2 separate regions of the Homo sapiens genome follow, and region 1 is linked to region 2. The links are contacts of gene promoters, found by promoter capture Hi-C in blood cells and fetal thymus (Javierre and others, 2016). All regions are on one chromosome and are shown on one strand. Each heading gives the region's core, a stretch centred on a gene start or on the middle of the fragment in contact. The rest is flanking DNA. Distances are from core to core; before and after follow the strand shown.

Region 1 (6,832 bases), core at 2,896-5,395, 580 kb after region 2:
TCAAATATTTATTATCAACCACGTGCTCTGCACTCTGCTAGGTTGTGTGATGAAAAAAGAGGCAGAAAGGGACCGGAGAGAAGGTCCCAGAGCTAGTTAGGATGGAGTGGATACCAGGTCACAGAATTCCCAAACCACAGAGTTTCTTTCCTTCCCCCAGGTCATGCTGCAAAGGTGGCAAAGTGATATAACAATCACTCTAAATGGCATGGTTTGGAAATTAAAATTCTGCAAGCCAAATTCTATTCTTTCCATTCTTTTTCAATATGTATATCAGAGAAATACTCTACGATAAAAAGAAATAGAAGGTATATAATTTTCTTCTACAGCATCAGTTTTCTCATGTGTAAGATTAAGGATTGGGTGAGGTAATTTCTAAGGCTACTTCCAACTTACAAAATTCTACAATTTGAAATAGAGGTGGGCATTTTGGTCTCAGTCTGCATTTTGTTCTCAATCTACATTTTCTCTGTGAACCTTTGGTACACTGTTTCAAGCTGGGACTTAATTCAGCTTTCTTCTTACTTCAGCTTTCTCCAGCATAACACCGTACTCTCTCCAGTAAAGTAAACAAAGGTGTAAAGAATAATACATTCCAGTCTAGTTGCTCTGTTGCTCCCAAGAGGTTTTTAAGCTGAAGCCAGGAATCATGCTCCATATCTACTGAACTGCACCTATAGATTTAAATTAATATATGTGCTCCTGGATTGATGTATTCTACAAATGAGAAGTCTGGTTTAATGGCCACTCCATATAGTATAGGAAGGGACCAGAGTATAGCTGCTGATGGTGGATGCCCCAGGCCTGAGGATTTAGCATGGCATGTCTCTTTGAGTACAATATGGGGCTGCTGGCTTATTAGCTAAAGTGTGTCAGTCTGGGTTGCTGGAAGATCACTATAGTGCCATCTGTTCCACCCATTCATTCACTCCCATTTGAGGCCAATTGCTCATTTGGCTCATTGTCCTGCCACTAAAGCCAGCTAGTGTTCTTTGTCCTTTTCGTGGCCCAGGATAAGTTTTTCTTTATTGATACAGATCTGTGTTTTCTCACCACCATTTTTATCTTCTTGAACCTGTGTTTCCTTGTCAAAATGTATGCAACTTTCCCTGAAACCTACATAGGCACATGAATGAATATAATACAATTGTGATTTCTCAACTATGTAGCAATCCTAATGGGAATAATGGCCTTTACCAGGGCAGAAGACACAATCTGGCTTCGTGGTGCTGGGTTGTTCATCAGACCTGGATTTTAACTATGAAATAAGCCTTCTCAAAATCATGCAATAGCTGATGTGTAAGGCCATGGAACTGTGATTCCCTGTAAGGGCTTCATTTACACCTGAGGGTGGCATGCCAAGGCTGTTACTGATTAGTTATCAAAGGGTAGAAAACGTCTACTGTCAAGACTAATATAACACCCAGAGAATGCCTAGAGATTGACAATCATTTACTACATGTCCCCTAGTCCTATGAGAATCTAATATTCCTAGCTTCAGAAGGCGCCTCACTGTCCATCCTAATCCAAGTCCTCCATGTGGAGCTTGTCTTCCTGTGTCTGTCCTGCACTAGGCCAAGCTAACCTTCGGGCAGTGCCCCCTTCTCTCTCCAACACGTCCAGTGCCCCAGCAGTCCCAGGGAGTGTGCTCTAGCAACCAGAGGCTGTGCTTTGACTGCTCAGGTCCCCTGTGCCATCCTTCCCTGCTCTGCTCCTCCAAAGCTTTAGTTCTAGATCTACTTTAATTCTATTTATTTGATCCTCTCTGGTTTCAAACTCTTGTTCACATCCCCAACTTAAAAGTTCACTTCCAGCTCCTGCCACATTCAGTAAACCTTCTAACCCCACTCCTGCAGCCTGGGCTTCACCATTTTTAAAAAGTTTTAAAAATTAAAAACATTTTAACTTTCAGCTTTGCTCGGTCCTCTAGCCTTTCTGGTTCTCATGAAGACTTCCTGCTCCAGCCACTGACCCCTAACAGATTAGTCCTGGACACACTGAGCTGGAGGGATCAGATACCTCACTGTATCAGACCCTAGAAACGTGTTGACAGCCCATGTTTCAATGGCAGAAAATTCATTCCCCCTTAAAAATAATCCAGCGTCTTGAAAACATCTTCCTTTCTTGAATCCAAATTTGTCTCTATTTTACTTCTTTTCATGACCTGGCTTAGTTCTACCTTCTCTGTCCACATACAACACTTCTAGTCCCCCACCTCTGCCCCAAATATTCCTAGGCAGATGTGGCAAATTGTATTTTCCAGAAATGGCTTCAATCACATTTCTGGTTCCATAAACTTTCTCAAAAACCTTTTCTCCAAACCTTTTCCCTCCCCTGTCAAGAGGTGGAGTCTACATCCCCCTCACCACCCCCTTGAAACTGGGCAGGCTTTGGTGACTGACTTGACAAACAGAATACAGAAGGCACACTGTGTGGTTTGCTAGGACAGATTGGAGAAGACAATACAGCTACTGCTGGACTCGATCGCTTGTGACACATACTTTCAAACCCTGAGTGATTATGTAACTTCCAAGTAGTTGAGTTCAACAGCTTTTGAGATTATTCCAGTGATGTGGTTTTGGACATGCTATTCCCCAAATATGGCATTTTGGCATTTAAGAAAATAGCAGAAGCAGGAAGGTCATTCCCACTTTCTCCTTGTCCTTCTTCCCTGAAGCAAGTCATAAGACACTTATTCCCGATGTGCCATCCTATTACATGAAGGAAAGAAACACCCTTATCGCTGAAGACACAGGGACACAGAGAAGAATCTGAACAAACAGGCCTTGCTAAATTCCCCCCAGTTTATTACCACTAGATGATCTACCCTTTGTCCAACCATACTTCTCCACAACTATTTACTTCTTTATCAAATGTAGCATAAAAAGATACAAGTTTATCTGTTTATTTGGGTCTTCATTTCTTCATGAAGGCTCCCATGTCATGTTAGACTTACTGTACTCTTTTCTCTTGTTAATATGTCTTTTGTTACAGAGGTCTCACCATGAACCTGGCGATGGATGAGAAGATATTTCTTTCCCCCCATACCAGCCCTCACCACCAACTGACTGCAAAAACTTGAGAGACCGAGTGAGAATTGCCCAGCTCAGCCCAGTTAGCTCCTAGAACCATGAGAGATAAAAATAAATGATGGTTACTGTTTTAAGCCATGTTTTTCGAACAGTTTTTTATGTAATGATAGATAACCAAAACAGCAGACTCCGTAAAATTCCTTTTTCAAGCTAAAGTTAGTCTTTTAGCAAACATTTACTAAGCACCTACCGTGACATTCTAAGTTGACTCTTCTATCTTTCTTCTAATTGGACCACATATGATGTGCTTGTTCTCTCACTGCCTTGATCAGTGAGACAGTCTTCTGGACACAGGCTAAGATTTTCTGATGCTCTCTTAAAGCACAGTAACCAGAGCTCAACCCTGTGCTTGGAATTTTTGGGGGGCCAGCCCAGACAATGTGAGAGCAAGCATTGCATTCCTAAGCTGCTGCTGTACCACAGAAGCTCCACTCGCATCTCCATTTTGATGCTCAGCAGCTGTGTGGCTTCAGCCGTCATTGAACCACTCTGAACTCAAGTTTCCCCATGTAGGAAATGAAGTTTTTAACACCCACATGGAAAGAATTATGTGGCTATTAAATGAGATAATGTATGCAAAATACTTGGTGCAATGCCTCACCATAGTAAATGCTTACTAAACTGTAGATGCAATTATTGCTTTTATTCCCTCTTCTCTTCTGGAGAAGTAATTGTTTTAACGTACCCTACAATAAAATTAGCAGATCAAATTGGCTTTAGCAGCCGCTTACATTCCTGATTCTTATGTAATTTACAATGAGAGATCTTGAAGTCAGTGCTTCCCAAACCAGTACAGGATGATGGCAAAATTCAGGGGGAGGAGTCCTGGCCGTCTGTAGCTAATAAGTACCCCTAGGTGCACGTGGTCCACTGAGAAGTCTTTTTCTCATTTTGAATTTTCCTGGCTGACTGATCAAAAATGCTATTAATTTCAGCCTGCTAACACTGGTTCTTAGCTGTAGCATGTTGATATGTCTTTAGATTATAATTCCGTTGTCAAATATATTATAAGGTAGTCCTTTAGACCTTATGCCCCCCTGTCAATTTGGCCAAAACATCTTGTTTATCTTCACCTGTCATTGATTTAAAAAACTACAACATGTTGAACAGGACTCCTTCAGTGTTCCACTAAAGAGCTGCCTCCAGCCTCATGCTGGCTCCTAATCTATTCCTCCTGGGGGTGGACATTCAACTGGTCATGAATCCACCTTGCCATGCTATCATCTGAGCCACAATTTTTGCCTTCTTTATAAAGATCACAGAAGACTTTGACAAATGCTCTGAATTCAGAGGCCTTAAATCTACAGGATCTAACATGCCTGTCAAAAAGCCATAATAAAAAAGCCAGAGTCCTTAGCAATCTGTCCTGAGAAGGACCCAGTGATCTCATCTTTTTCTGTTTTTAAAACTTAACTTCCACTATCTCAATAATATGTCTTAGAATATTACCTAGCATTGAGGTTGGAATCAGTTATTTTGCTGAACCTATTTATTTTTTTTTTGCAGGGAACTTGGATGAGACTATTCTCTCTGAATATTTCTCTTTCTCTTATTCTCCCTCTCTTCCTCTCTCTCCACCTCTCTCCTTTCCTCCATCCTTCTTTCCCTTTTTTGCATAACTATTTATTTACAACTTTAAATTTGGAAAATTTCAAATACATAGAAAAGCAGAAAAACTAGCAAAATAACCCCCCACTCCCAGCTCCCAGCTTCAGAACTTATCTCTCTGGCTACCCTGTTTTATCACCCACTTCTTCCCAACCACCACTGGATTGTTTTGAATAGTATTAGAATATTTAATTGTGTAGAGTTCAGTAGGTATTCCTCAAAACAGAGTTGTTTTTAGAAACATAATCACAATGACATTTTACAATTAAAACATGATCTTTTTAAATATCATCAAATATCCAGCTAGCAGTCAAAATTTTCTGGATTATCTCAAAAAAAGTTTTTTTTTTTTTTTTTTTTTTTTTTTTTACAATTTGTTCTGATCTTTGGGAGTATTTTGTCCTCTTTGAAACAGAAACTATATTATGTATATATATTTATTTTCCATGTATATTTATATATCTCATGCACCTATGTTTCTAAATGACTTCTGATCATACTTTAGGGCTTTACTTTCAGGTTTTCTCAGGTCCTTGAGTGGAATTTGTATCAGGACTTTAGATCTTATTTGAAGAATCCAGCTAGTACTCTAGATCCTTGCTACTCAAAATGTGTCTAGGGACCAGCAGCATTAGCATCTCTTGGAAGTTTGATAGAACTGCAGAATCTACAGCCTCTTGCAGAATTTCTTAATCAGAATCTGCCTTGTAGTAAGATCCTTACATAATTAATAGACACACTAATGTTTGAGAAGCTCTGTATTAAAATACTAGGCCCCTCCCTACACATGCTAAACAAGAAACTTGAGTTTTGAGGCATCAAAAATTTCTAATAGATGTTTATTAGTGAGTGAGACCCATGTTCTGTTGCAGCATAACTTGGTCATCTATGGACTGGAAAGTCTAACACTTGTCTTTTAATTTTCTCTTCCCCTCCCTACCACTCTTCCTATTTAGTTTATACTATACCACTCCTTCTTGGGTTTGAAATTCAGAGTCCATATATATATATATATGTGTGTGTGTGTGTGTGTGTGTATATATATCTATATGTATACATATGTGTATATATCTATATGTATACATATGTGTATATATATACATATATATATGGCAAAAGCAGGGACAAAGGAAATGAATGGAAGGGTGCATGTCTTCTTGTGACCCATGCTCAGAACCAGCATAGTGTCAATTCCACCACATTCTATTGGTTGAAGCAAGACCTAAGATTCAAAGGCAGATGAAAAACTTTGTCTCTTGATGGGAGAAGCTGCAAGCCACAGTACAAAGAGTACACATATAGGGAAGGATAAAGGATTGTGGTCATTTTTGCAAACAATGTACCATAAATACTTCATGTGTAGTAGTCTTATCTGAGGACAGGGAGTTGGAAGTAGATGCTTTTTATGGTGTCCTACTGCCTTCTACTTACATCTAAATAAATGACCTGTCAGCCAACAAGTGACCATCACTGAGAATAAATAATTTGAGAGTAGAACATTCTGAAATTTAATATGTGCAGAACCAAGGTGAAGAGTTTCCCAAGCTGAGGACTCAAAGCTGCAAATTCTCTCCAAGAGATTCCAGACAAGATTTAGGGGAGAGAGGCAAGACACGTTTCTTTGCATTGATCTTTGAATAATCTTAAGCAAGTCACAAAGACTCCCATATGATTGGTCCCCAGGCAGCCCACATCCCTTTGTGTGTTATTTCCTTCTAACGTAACATGCTTGTCAAAGCAGTGAGGTATTACAGAGAAATGGGCTGTGGAAATGCATGTAAAATAATATTTTATGTTTTGATGCACTGGAAGTCAAAGTGATCATCATACAAACCATTTAATTTTGAAACCAACTCTTGTGAAGCTTGTTTCATTGCTGTTCAAAATTCAATTGCCCTCTCTTTGAAAGTGCTTCTCCACCTAATGCTTTCTCCCTCACTTAGCATATGAGGGCCTTGTTTTGTGGAGGACATGCATTTGTGACCTAAGACAAAACCTCTCCCGGTTGTTGGGGAATTGATTCTGCCTGAGAGCCTCACTATTATAATATTTACCTTACAATAATCTATTTGATGCCTCCCAATTGAGTGCAATAACCATTTTATTATTTGTTGTTTCAATTTAGTGGGAAA
Region 2 (6,817 bases), core at 4,069-6,568:
AAGATGGCATTCTTCATATCATAGTAACAATGTCTGTCTACAAGCAGGATTTAAAAGTAGTAATGGATAGGAAGATATGCTAAAGCAAAATATTAATTGTAGAATCTAGGTGGTTAGAGTATATGAGTGTTCACTATAAAATTCAACTTTCTTGTGCATTTGAAAATTTTTATAATAGTTTAGCAATAGGTCTGTTGAATTGTGGGGTCTTTATAATTCAAGTTAACTGCAGTATTTTCACTCCCTAAGATCATTAAGTTTTAAAAGTAAACAAATTGAGGGGAAAAACATGATTTGGTCACTTGAGAATAATATTAACCTTTCCATCCTTCATTTCGGAGAGCACGTGTGCACAGACGAATACTAAGATATAACAATAAAGATAAATGTTAACATTTTCTCAAACACTCAAAACTTATAGAGAGTATAAAAATTGATTAGGTACAGAAGGGCTAGTTAAGTTAGCCCATATTCATTAACAACTGGGTCAGAGATTATGATGTAAATCCTTATATTGAGCTTCTAATGTTTATAACCAATGTTGTCTTTATGCAAACTACTCATGGCAGTAAGGGGCATGCAGTCCTACCCAAGTTAACCTTTACGATATGAAAACCATAAAGGGGGAAGGAAAAGTCCCAAGGGCATTCATGACAGACCCTAACTACCGTAGGGCCTATACATCATGAAATCTATGATTACTACTTATGGAAGCCATCACACTCAACCGAAATGGGAGTAGCACCAATCTTATCATAAATTCATACAATTTAATTGTCAATGCAATCAGTAACAGTGATACCTGGTCTGAAGTGCAGCTGGACTGCTGATGCTAATGATCCCACAAAGTGACTTTTTAAGATTTGGGGACGTTTGTGTTCTAAAACTGGTTTGGCTACCAATTTGTCTTCTTCAGAACTGAGGTCAACAGCCTCTTTTTGTCATCTGCAAAGTGAAGGAAAACATGGAGACCTCAAAGTACAGGAAGTAGTCCCCAACTTCTAACAGCTTATGTTCCAAAGGTTTATCATTCCTTTGAAAACACATCTGTACTAATTAACCAATTTATACCATAGTTTCTTCGGAAAAATTGCATTCTAAGTTCCAACTCTAACTTGCAACTTTCTGCCCAGCAAAAAGGCGTCTGCTGCATTTTTGCTAACTACAGCCAAAACCTAAGGCTCAGAGAATTCTCTCTAGGGAGAACCCACTTTATAACCTGCTAAGGCAGGGAAAAAAGAGCTCTCACATAGGGAACTTCATTGCTTCTATGGGAAAGGCTACCACAATTGAACAAGATAATGGATATGGAGAAGGTATCTGGCTAATATAAAGTAAAAGTATTATCTCTTACAATAAAAATATGTAGAAAACACATTTTGTTCCAGATAAAAAGGTATAGTTAAGTGCTGTTAAAGTGGCTGATTAACCAAACGTTTGGCAAGTACAGACAATATATTTTCAAACTGCTTCCTCCTATCTGTTCAACTCAGCTGATAAGGGAGGAATTACTAAAGTGAAGTCAAATTGTTACCAAAAATGTTGCTAAATGTTAAAAAAGTGCAGTGTACTTCAATAAATAAATCACACATCACCCCTTATGACAACTGGTAAGATAAATAACTTGGGTGACAAATTTAAAAAACAAGTATAACTCTGTGACGTCACTTTCAGCAGCTAACTTGAGTCTTTTACACAATTTAAGAACTACTGTAAAATTTAAAGAAATAGCTCACAGAGAAAGTAAACCCTTCACTAAAACGACTTGCAGAAATGAAACCATTGATAGAGATATGGAAAAAGAGGTCAGGGAAGGTATGAGCAGGCCAGAATAAATCGGTTTGTGGATGCACAGCCTGAGAGTAACATTTAAATATTATTAAAGGTCTGTGCCATTGCTATATGATATGATGGTGATCTGAGCAACTCCCAAACTAGAAACACTAGAGTGTTCAGCTACAGACCAGTTAAAGTGTTGCGACTATTAGTAGCTATAGAAGAAAACTAGATTTAAAAGCCCCGAAAAGCTTTAAAAGCCCAAAGTAATAATGGCAGGCAATCTACACATCCCCCTCCTTTTAACCTTTTCAAAAAGAATGACTGTAAGAATCAGATAAGAATGAATGAGATGCCTAACTACGTGAGATCTTCAAAAGACATGAAAAAAAAACAAGAACAAGGTATTTTTTTTGTCTGAAACCTGATTCTCTCATTAAGTCACCTGAATTAGACATTATATTAGATTCATACTGACAAATCTCCATTCACGGTAAGGCACAGGAGACAGTCCATTATTATACAAATCTCCTTACTACTAAGCAAGATTATCTAACATTATGAATATAAACATTTAATTAAGAAATGTCAACATTAAAACTATATGCAGAATACCTAAATTAAGTAGCTCTTTAAAACAGAGATGTATACTTTCAAATGGTACAAATTTAGCTAAATGATAATGTGTCAGAAATGCGTTTTCATATATATAAAAAATGAAGCAAAACATATTTTCTTTTTTGAGTCGGAGTTTCGCTCTTTGTTGCCCAGGCTGGAGTGCAGTGGCGCGATCTCGGCTCACTGCAACCTTCGCCTCCCGGGTTCGAGAGATTCTCCTGCCTCAGCCTCCCAAGTAGCTGGATTACAGGCGCCCGACACCACTCCCGGCTAATTTTTGTATTTTTAGTAGAGAGGGGGTTTCACCATGTTGGCCAGGCTGGTCTCGAACTCCTGACCTCAGGTGATCCACCTGCCTCGGCTTTCCGAAGTGCTGGGATTACAGGCGTGAGCCACCGCGCCCGACCAAAACATATTTTCATGTGCATGAAAAAGAATTATGCCCTCCAACCACACTACTGAAGCTGGAAAAAGAAAACTTTTAATACTTAGCTACACTAAAAAAAAAAAAATAATAAAAATAAAAAATAAAAAATAAAAATATTAGCCACTTTACTTGTTGAGCCTTTTCATTATTGCATTACTCAATTTTAGTGGGGATCTTTGGCTGACTTGATGCAGATTTCTAATCTTAAGGAAAAATGACCAAAATCTCATCATTCAGTAGTGAATTTTTCTGCAATCTTTAATTTCAGCCCCAGAGTTACTATTAAACAGTCGTTAGCCTTCCATTTGTAAAAATGTTACTATGGAAATATTCACAATTTTGTTACCTGAAATGTTTGGTCAACCATGCATTTCTGCTATTTTAATCTGAAAAGAGAACTTTCTCTTTTCATATTGTCCAGTAAATACTAGTTTTCATTTTCTGGTTCCAATTTCATTTTTATCTAACTTGCTTAAGTATTTCAAAACAAGACCACCTAATAATATTGTGTCAATAAGCCTTCACAGGTATTCTTAGGCTCATAAATAGTCTACACTAACATATTTTCTTCTGTGATTGCACGTTAACAAAAAGGTTATTTTTTAAAAAAACTAGTGTTAGAAAACAAAATCAAAACTTCTAAAATGGAATGAAAACATTTCATGGAAGACTGTCACAGTAATTAACTGATCTAAATTGAATTGTCCATGAGTGGGCCCCTCTGGTGTTCAATAGATGTTGCAGTACCAATTTTTCTCTCCATAATGCAGAACTTAAATCTGGTATATTACTATACAGGTAAGTTACTGCCCCCCTCCACCCGAACACTTATTATCTATATAGTTAGTAACTCTCAAAAAAGACTCTCTCTCTTTGAATCTCAAATGATGAAACAAATATCCTGAAATTTAATTAGGTCTAACTGTGAGGAAGTAAGATTAACTCAAGGTTGACAGGTCAATAAGATAACACTAGTTTAAAAGGCATACTCTCAGAGGGGAAAATCCTAACTCAGGGGGAAAAATCCTAACTCGGGTTGGGCAAGTTGCGAAAAAAAAGTTAAAGCAATCTTTCCATCTAGATAATTCACAGACCAATGTAGTGTCTAAGTTAGCTAGTGTTGTTAAGAGTGGGGTAATTTCCTAAAACATTCAGGTCAGTCCCTTACACCATGTGCAACTTCGGTATTACAATCTAGGACTCCCATCACCGTGGTACTGTTTGCTCTTATCCACAAACCTTCCTGCAGACCAATAAAGGAACTAATGCAATGCTTTCAGATACTGTGCATAACACACTAAGGGTGACAGTGGCTAACAGGGTAAGGATCTTGTTCTAAAAAGCAACCCAAGACGATAGTGAAACAGTAAGGTGCTGAGTGCACTTAAGAGCTCTGAAAAAAAGCCACTCTTTAAAATACCTAATGATAAATAAATAAGAGTAGCTAGCTTTCAGATCACTTTCAGGGGTATTATTTCCTTCCCTCCAACACGCCATTCACTCTCCTTTTCCCTTCTCGTATCATGAGAGCATAAAAAGAAACAGTAAAAGCGTAAAACTGCAAGGGTGAGCAGCCGGGGTTCCGGCACATCTGGACCCACCTCCAGCGGCAACAGGGCAGCCCCCCTGGCCGATTCCGTCTGAACTAGCAAAAACGCGCCCGCAAATATGAAAGAACGCGAAAGCAGCGGGCGAGGAGGGCGGGGAATCGACCGACAGTCCGCGGAGGAGCTACCTGCCGCCTCCTGGCGTGGCGGGTCCGGACTCAGCGACCAAAGCGGGCTGCGAGGGACTGCACCCACACTCCCGGCGGCTGCACCCACACTCCCGGCGGCTGCATCCACACTCCTGGCAGTCTTCACACTAGCCCGGCCGAGAATCAAGGTTTCGCTCCTGGACCCCGACGCCCCGCCTCAGGCTGCACGGGGCAAACTTCGCCCACGGGCAGGGGGCGCGCCCGGAGCTCCGGGATCCGCGCCGGCCTCAGCCAGGACGCGAGCGGGGCTCCGCGGCGGCGCGGGGCCAAGTCGAGGAGAGCTGCGGCGGGCGGAGGAGCGGGTCCCGGTTCCCCGCGGGCCACGGGCGGGGGAGGGGCGGCGAGGCACTTACCACGGGTCGAACTCGTGGATGATGCTTTCGAAGCGGATGACGGCGAAGAGGCGCGAGCTGAAGCCGGCAAGCCAGGCCAGGAAGAGGATGGTGAAGGAGAGAAGCGACTGCCACCCAGCCGGCTGCGACAGCCCCCCGGACAGCCCCGCCGGGGCCGGCTTCGGCGGCGCCGCGCCGCCCGCCGCCTTGTGCGCGCACTGGGCCCCGGGCCCGTGGTGGCCGTGCCGGCTGTTTCCCAGGGCCATGAGGCCACTCCACGGGGACGAGTTGAGGGACGACTTGTGCTTGCTCTCCGGGGCCGAGGGCTCCGCCATGTTGTGCCCCGGCGGCGGGTCTAGCTCTCCTCCTCCGCCGCCGCCGCCTGGTGCGAGGGGTGCTGGGCGGGGACCCGGAGGAGGAGGAGGAGGAGGAAGAAAAAGGAGGAGGGAAGAGCTCTGCGCGCTCCCGCCCTCAGCGCCGCGAGGCCGGCGGACTGGGGGTGGAGGAAGCGGCGGCGGGGAGTCTCCGCCTCAGCAGCGGCCGCAATCGCCGCTCTCTCAACCCAGATGGCCCCGGCGCCCCACTAGCCATCCGTATCCCCAGTGCAGCTGCGGCGGCGGCGGCGAAAGCCGACGGGACGAGGGCGCCAGGAAAGAAGCAGCAGACGGAGGCGGCACCACGGCTCTGAGAAGCAATGACATTCCCTCTCTAGCCCGCCGCCCGCCCAGCCGAAAGGAGCAGGGGGAGGAGCCCCCTGGAGTCCGGGCGGAGCTCAAGCAACCTCTGACTCCGCCTCCGGCCCGACAGGAACTGGCCCCTCCGCCTGTCACAAAGCGACAGGTCCGTTAGGGGGCGGGCCCAGAACCGCTGCGCCCACCAATAGGGGCGCGAGCTGGGGCGGAGCTTGACCCAACCGTCTCCCCCTCCCCCCCACCATCCCGGCCTCGCGCCGATTCGCCCGGAGTGGCCGAGCTGCGCGGCTACGGCTTCATTGTCAGTTGAAAGACGCGGTTTCGCGCGCCTGTGCGGTCGGCGAGAAAGGGTACTAGGCGGCTCCGCTAGGTTCATGGAGCTGAGCTGGGCCGAGGGGCGGGAACTGCGGAGCGGCCTCGGTCAAACTCGTCTTAAAGGACGCGGAAAGCGCCGCACCGACCAGCAGGACGCTCGCGGGCTCTCCGCGGTCGTGACTTTTAACCCGCTTTGCGCGGAGCCCTCACCACGTGACGGCCGCGCAGGCGCATTATCCTAGCCCTCGGCGCGTGGGTCGGGCCGAGGGGTTCAGCAGCCCGTGGCGCTCCTCGGCTGGCGCTGCGAGTGAGCCCGCGGCGGCAGTGACACAGCCTACCTTGCTCATTGCCCTTCACGTCCCGCCTCCGGCTTCTGCGGCCGCGGGAATCCGAGAATGTGAGCAAAGACAAGTTTTCCGACACCGAAAACTCGTTGGAACCGGCAAGCGCGCCCCTAGCTCCGGCAGGCAAAATGCGACCTTCTCTCGCCCTTTTTCGTTTGTACTCCGAATTGCGAAAGTACTGTATGTTCACTGGAAATATGGGAAAATGCAGAAATACATTAACGGCTGCATACATTCCGTCGAGTGAGTGAAACTAACTTACCCTGGACGTTAAGCTGTTTCCAGTTCTCACTTTACTAAATAATAATAGAACGAAGGTTCTTGTGCACGTCTACCTTGTATTTTTATAATTCCTTTCCTTTCCCCACTTCCCTCCTTGTCCGCTAAAATAAAGTGCTACCAGATAAACTCAGGGCAAAATGAGCTTAAACTAAGTGAGGTAGTGGGGAGACTCGAATTGCTCTTATATAAACCCCATAGAAAGTACGGAGCTTTCGGCGTAATCGGTGCTCAGTAAATACTTGTTCATGTCAATTCACAGCTAATTGTACATTTTA

Evidence for each region. Contacts are between HindIII fragments. The CHiCAGO score rates a contact against its expected background, and 5 or more counts as called.
Region 1: a contact is called between a fragment that was not itself captured here and the fragment with the promoter of STT3B in region 2, in 1 of 17 cell types (monocytes). The highest score is 6.9, in monocytes.

What each region holds. Positions count from the first base shown.
Region 1 is chr3:30,948,681-30,955,512 of GRCh38, reverse strand. No RefSeq gene overlaps it. Among named protein-coding and RNA genes, the nearest start is that of GADL1, 57 kb to the right of the region's middle. The HindIII fragment of the contact is 4,842 bases long and covers 1,725-6,566 here.
Region 2 is chr3:31,531,426-31,538,242 of GRCh38, reverse strand. STT3B (STT3 oligosaccharyltransferase complex catalytic subunit B) reads right to left here and starts at 5,318. Exons shown (of 16, transcript NM_178862.3): 1 at 4,931-5,318. The coding sequence starts at 5,244. RefSeq lists enhancers at 2,145-2,644, 2,645-3,146, 4,586-4,645, 5,496-5,635 and silencers at 4,806-4,955, 5,036-5,165, 5,196-5,425, 5,736-5,995. The HindIII fragment of the contact is 5,534 bases long and covers 2,030-6,817 here.